2 separate regions of the Homo sapiens genome follow, and region 2 is linked to region 1. Evidence: promoter capture Hi-C in human tissues and cell types (Jung and others, 2019). All regions are on one chromosome and are shown on one strand. Each heading gives the region's core, a stretch centred on a gene start or on the middle of the fragment in contact. The rest is flanking DNA. Distances are from core to core; before and after follow the strand shown.

Region 1 (3,025 bases), core at 369-2,868:
GTCCTGGCAGGAGCCTGCACGGGGCCATCCCTTGCCTCAGAAAGGGCATGTATTTTTAGGCAGGCCACAGGGTGTTGGCTGAGTCTGCAAGAACTGAGGCCTGTGGCTCCCAGGGACCAGCTCCCAAGGGGCAAAATCCATCCAGCAAGGATTGGGCCGGAGTGGGCCGCATTCCCACCCCCGCTGAATGGTAGCCCCGTGTGTGGGCCTGCCCTGCCTGCTCCTTCCTGCTCAGCCCCTCTCGCTCCGCTCAGCCTTCAGCCCCTTTCTGGCTACTCCACAGGCAGTCTAGACAGGGTCCCCCCACCAGACCAACCCAGTGCCTGCCAGTGGTCCCTACCGAGCCCCGGGGTATGGTGGGCAGAGGACAGGGAAGGCCCCCATTCACCTGCATGTTTCCCGCATGTTCAGTGGGCACACAGGTGGGCGCCCCTCATGGAGGGCACCTCCTGCCAGCCTGGCCCATGGCACACCATGCTGCCAGGGGTCTGAGCTGCCAGAGGTCTAAGCCGCCTGGGGTGTGCTCCACTCTTCCACCCAGGCCTCCCTGGGGCAGGCTCCCCCTCCAGAGCCACACACCCACCCCCTTGGAAGACACAGGCAAGGATGCCTCCTCCCTGAAGGCTTGCCCTGCGCACACAGATGCATTATCCCTGGAGTTTGTGCCGCCCCACAGGCCTGTGCTCCCAGGAGCCCTGCCAGGCAGCTGGTGGCATTCTCCACGTGCAGACAGAGGCTGAGGGCCAGAGACATGCAGTAATGACCCCGGGTTACCCGGGAGGGGCTGATCTGTCTGCTTCCAACACTGGGCTTTTTCCCAAGGCGCCCAGAGCCTCTGGAGAAGACGCATCTCTTCATGCCAGCAGGGCTTCCCAGCCACTCACCCTGGAACCCTGGCCTGCCCCACCTATACCCCTGTCCTGGCTCCAGCTGCTTCCAAGGCTTGTTCCTGCAGCCTCCCAGGCACCTGTCTTGCCCACAGGCAGCCTGCCTGGCTTCCCCCGACCACAGCACTTTCCACGGATCGCCATTACAGCACACATCTTCCCTACCCGCAGGTGCATGCCAGGCTGGGGCTCCTCCCAGGTGGGGCAGGGTTCCCCACTCCTCTGGTTTGCATGGGACTTTTAACATTGAAAGTCCCACGCCCCTGGGAAGCCAGGATTGAGTCACCCTAGCAAAGAGCGCATCACATTCGCCCTGGCGTGCAGGGCCAAGCTTACAGCAGGCACTCGCTGAAGGGCAGGGCTCTCTGACAGTCTGCAGACCCACGTGCCCCCTTAGAAGCAGGTGGGCGGCCTCTGCGGCCTCCCTCAGCAGGGCTCAGAGCACTTGAGTTAAGCCTGTGGACAGCGCGGTAAAAGAACATCAGTCCAGATGTTCTGTGCTGATGCGCGATCTCTGGAGGATAACCGCCCGCCCGCCCGCAGCCCCGGGCCTCTCGGACCCCTGCCCAGCACTGGCCCTAGCTCGCCCTGTAGCGGCCGAGACCTCAGAGGCCGGGGGTGGGGGAGGGAAGGGGCGGGGCCGGCGCCTCATTAACATAATCTATGCGAGGGGGCGTTTGGCAGTCAAATATATGCGCATATATCTCCATGGCTGATGAGCTGGCCGGGCACTTTCAAAATGGCGGAGTGTGGAGCGAGCGGCAGCGGGAGCAGCGGGGACAGTCTGGACAAGAGCATCACGCTGCCCCCCGACGAGATCTTCCGCAACCTGGAGAACGCCAAGCGCTTCGCCATCGACATAGGTAGCCGCAGGCCGGGCGCCGGGCGCGGGCTGCGGGGGCGGGCGGGGCGCCGGCGGTGGGCCGGCGAGCGGGGGCGGCGGGAAGGACGAAGGGCGGGGGCGCGGGCCTCGCGCACAGCCTCACGGGCCTTGTAGTCCGCGGGCCCGCGCACAGCCTCACGGGCCTTGTAGTCCGCAGGGTCGCTGATGCGCGGGCTCGGGGCGACGGCCGGACTACAGCTACCGGCAGGCGCCGCAGGGACCAGAGCGGGGCCTGCCGGGCCTGGTAGTTCGCGCGGCCGTCCTGGGTGGCTGGGGGCCGGGGTCCAGCGTTACCCGCCGCGAGGTGGGAGGGTCGGCGGAATTTTATGTCTTCGGCCACATCGGCATCTGGGCGCCCCGGCTCCGCCGCTTGGCTGGTGGCTGGCCTGAGATTTGGGGTCCTTAGTTCTGGTCGAGACGAGGACGAGCTCGGCGGGAAGCCCTTGGCAGAGTGGCCCCGAAAAGGCCGCGCGTTCCCGCGGCGTGGCCAGCTGTGGCCCGCGGGCCGGACAGTCCGTGCACAGGCCCCGCTCTCTGGAGAGTGGACGCCGGGCGTGAGTTCAGGCGGCCGTGGACGTGGGACCTGGGAACTCGTGCCTCTGGTTTAAAAGCCACCCGTGCCTTCCGTGGCCTTTAAGGCGGCCTGCACTTCTGCCCTGGCCTCTCCAGGGTCCGCTGCAGACCCTCCTGCCTGATGGCTGTGCTCTCAGTAATGACGGCGGGCCAGGCTCTGTTCTAGACCTTTTTCCCACGCTCCTGACTCCCGGACACCTCCCAGCCACCTCTAGGGGAGGAACGCGAATTACTCCCTTTTCGCAGATGAGGATACCAAGCCCCAGAAAGGTGAACTAATTTGCCCAGGGTCATCGGGCTAGAAAGTGGCAGAACCAGGATTTGAACCAGCCACTCCCTGCTCTCCTACTCTGCCCATGTTTCAGGCATGAGGGCTTCCTGGGGGCAGCTTCACCTGGAGAAACCCCCCTTGAATAGCCGCTGCGGCTTCACATACCTCTCCCTCTTAGCACTCATCTCGGTCGTAGGCTGAGTCTGCTTGTGTGTGAATCCCACAAGAGCAGCGGTGTGTCTTGTAGCCCCAGCCCCCGAAAAGGATGCCCAACCTGTCTTTGCCGCCCAGTAAATACTGGGATGAATGGGCCTGCCGCTGACTGCTTCCCACCTCCCTGGAAAAGCTGGGACTCAGAGAGACCCAGGCCATTCCCTCTGAGCTGTGTGCTCCTGGTGCATCTGACATGTT
Region 2 (3,025 bases), core at 338-2,837, 310 kb after region 1:
CCTGGGCAACAGAGCAAGACCCTGTCTCAAAAATAAAACAAACAACAACAATAACAAAAAGTAGCTATGCATGATGGCATGCACCTGTGGTCCCAGCAACTCAGGAAGCTGAGGAAGGAGGATTGGTTGAGCCAAGGAGTCCGAGGCTGCAGTGAGCTAGGATAGCATCAGTGCACTTCAGCCAGGACAACAGAGTGAGACCCTGTCTCTAAAAAAGAGAGGGGGAGAGAGGGAGGAACGAGGGAGGGAGGGAGGAATCTTCCCCACAAAATGCTAATTTGTCACAAAGGGAAAAAGAATGTCAGTTCCAGCGGAGACACAGACCCCACCTTAACCGAGCGATCGCGGTGGGCTCCATTGATACTGGATCCATCAGAGTCCTGCCCCACCTGACAGGGTGGGGTGAGCAGACCACAGTGTCACATCTGCTCCTTTCCTGCCAAAGATGCACAACCTGTGTCTCTCTGTGATGACATCTCAGACAAAGCCACACAGGGAACCGTCTCCAAAAGGCCTGGCCTGGAAGCTTCAAAGAACAGTCAGGGAAAGGCCCAGGAATGTTCCGGACCGAAGGAGACAGAAGACATGATGGCACCTCAGTGCAATGTGTGGTCCCAGGCTGATCTCTTTACTGCAAGGGATATTACTGGGACAACCAGAAAGCCCAGAGTGGGGTCTGACTCCACGTGATTTCCCGCCTTGGACAGCCGTGTTGGGGCGTGTAGGAGAATGTCCTTGTTTTGGGGTGTGGTGAGCACCATGCGGCAACAAACCCTCAAATGCTTCAGGGGAAAAAAAGTTCCTGTACTATTCTTGCAACTTTTCTATAAGCTTGAGATTGTGTCAAAATACAAATTTTATTTTTAACAATGTTAGGAGGAGGAGGTACACATTCTCCATTCGGCCCTGCTGAGCTTGAGCTGTCGGGCAGGCTGCAACCTGAGGCTTCTGACTGCAGCCCTGCAGTGGGGCGCTGTGAGGGTGGGGCGGAGGAGCCACAGGACACCAGAGCATCTGCTACAACCCCAGCCAAGATGGTGCAGGGTCCCCTTCCTAGTCCAAGCACAAACACATGCTGGGTAAAATAGATTTGCTTTTTTTTTTTTTTTTTTTGAGACCGAGTCTCGCTCTGTCACACAGGCTGGAGTGCAGTGGCGCGATCTCGGCTCACTACAACCTCCACCTCCTGGGTTCAAGCGATTCTCCTGCCTTAGCTTCCCGAGTAGCTGGGATTATAGGCGCCCGCCACCACGCCCGGCTAATTTTTTGTATTTTTAGTAGAGACAGGGTTTCACTGTGTTAGCCAGGATGGTCTTGATCTCCTGACCTTGTGATCCGCCCAGCTCGGCCTCCCAAAGCACTGGGATTAAAGGCGTGAGCCACTGTGCCCGGCCATTTTTTTTTTTTTTTTTTTTTGAGACAGAGTCTCGTTGTGTCACCCAGGCTGGAGTGCAGTGGCGCAATCTCGGCTCTGTGTAAACTCTGCCTCTCGGGTTCAAGCGATTCTCCTGCCTCAGCCTCCTGAGTAGCTGGGATTACAAGCACCCGTCATCATGCCCAGCTAATTTTTGTATTTTTTTTAGTAGAGATGGGGTTTTGACATGTTGGCCAGGTTGGTCTCAAACGCCTGACCTCAGGTGATCCACCTGCCTCGGCCTCCCAAAGTGCTGGGATTACAGGTGTGAGCCACCTCGCCTGGCCAGATTTGGTTTTTTTGTTTTGTTTTGTTTTGTTTTTGAGACAGAGTCTCACTCTCTCGCTCTGTTTCCCAGGCTGGAGTGCAGTGGCACAATCTCGGCTCACTGCAAGCTCCGCCTCCTGGGTTCACACCATTCTCCTGCCTCAGCCTCCTGAGTAGCTGGGACTACAGGCACCCGCCACCATGCCCAGCTAATTTTTTTTGTATTTTTTAGTAGAGACAGGGTTTCACCATGTTAGCCAGGATGGTCTTGATTTCCTGACCTCATGATCTGCCCGCCTCAGCCTCCCAAAGTGCTGGGATTACAGGTGTGAGCCACCTCGCCTGGCCAGATTTGTTTTTTAAATGTCCTGTAAAAAGGCACAAGGAAGGTAGCTGTGCAGAGCTAGAAATGAAGATAGCACTCAAGCCACAGTGGTAAGCAAGAGTGGAAACCAAACTGCCAATGCAAGCCTTGGGCCTGGTCTCACGTCCACTGAGGGCTGCTGGTTAAGGCCAGTGAGAGACAAGAGTCATGGCCACAGGCCCTTTCTGAATGGGATCTGGAACTGGGCTTCCATCATAACAATAAGAGCTAAGAAGGGTCTGTCCCAGTCCATGAAGGGGAAATGGAAATCTCTGCCCACCAGCCTAGACATGGAGCCCAGAGAGTAAGCAGCCCAGACTAAGCCAGAAGGACACAGGGCTCCAGGAAAACAAGGAACCAGTGGAAGGTAGGATGCAACTGACTAGATCAAACACTGTGTGGAGGGCTTGTTGGAAGAGGTAGGTGGGATGGGCCATAGGCACAGAGGAAACTCAGCAGATGACAGAAGAAAGCAAGGCCACTACTAACTCCAGGAAAAATAAAGAGAAAACCTAAGCAGAGTTCACTACTTGACTCAGCAGAGAGTTATAGTACAAATTATAATAGAGACATCAACTTAAACAAAAATGAGGAAATTGCTCATTTGGGAAGACAGAAGAAGAGATGGTAGGGTGGGGCAGGGAGCATTGGATAAGAGCAAAACCCTCATTCTCCAGTAACATCTCACCATGTATAAAGCTGCTAAACCAAGGAGGAGCAGCAAGAGCACATAATTGAGAAGTATGGAGAGAGCTAAGACAAAAAAAAATGGGTGAAAGCTTTGAAAGAAGCTGACGCTAGGGCCGTAATGGAGGAGCAAAGGAGGGCCAGGGCTTGGTGAGTTCCACAGAGACAATAGTTTCTACAGATTCTACAGTTTCAGTATTTAAACTGTACTAACTTTGGGGGTTCTTTTTGTTTCTTTTATCTATGTATCTGTATTTCTTTGGTAACTATTAAAATAAAGAAACACACTAGAA

Evidence for each region. The method cuts DNA at HindIII sites, captures the fragments that hold promoters and counts their contacts. A contact is called where the count stands out against the background at its distance.
Region 2: a fragment that was not itself captured here is called in contact with the fragment with the promoter of PANK4 in region 1 in 1 of the 25 tissues and cell types used here (dorsolateral prefrontal cortex).

The regions. Positions count from the first base shown.
Region 1 is chr1:2,525,189-2,528,213 of GRCh38, reverse strand. It overlaps PANK4 (pantothenate kinase 4 (inactive)), which reads left to right and starts at 1,618. Exons shown (of 19, transcript NM_018216.4): 1 at 1,618-1,750. The coding sequence starts at 1,627. RefSeq lists enhancers at 1-149, 871-1,591. The HindIII fragment of the contact is 22,461 bases long and covers 1-3,025 here.
Region 2 is chr1:2,218,563-2,221,587 of GRCh38, reverse strand. It overlaps LOC124903823 (a long non-coding RNA gene), which reads right to left. Exons shown (of 2, transcript XR_007065358.1): 2 at 839-1,053. Among named protein-coding and RNA genes, the nearest start is that of SKI, 8.2 kb to the left of the region's middle. The HindIII fragment of the contact is 5,387 bases long and covers 1-3,025 here.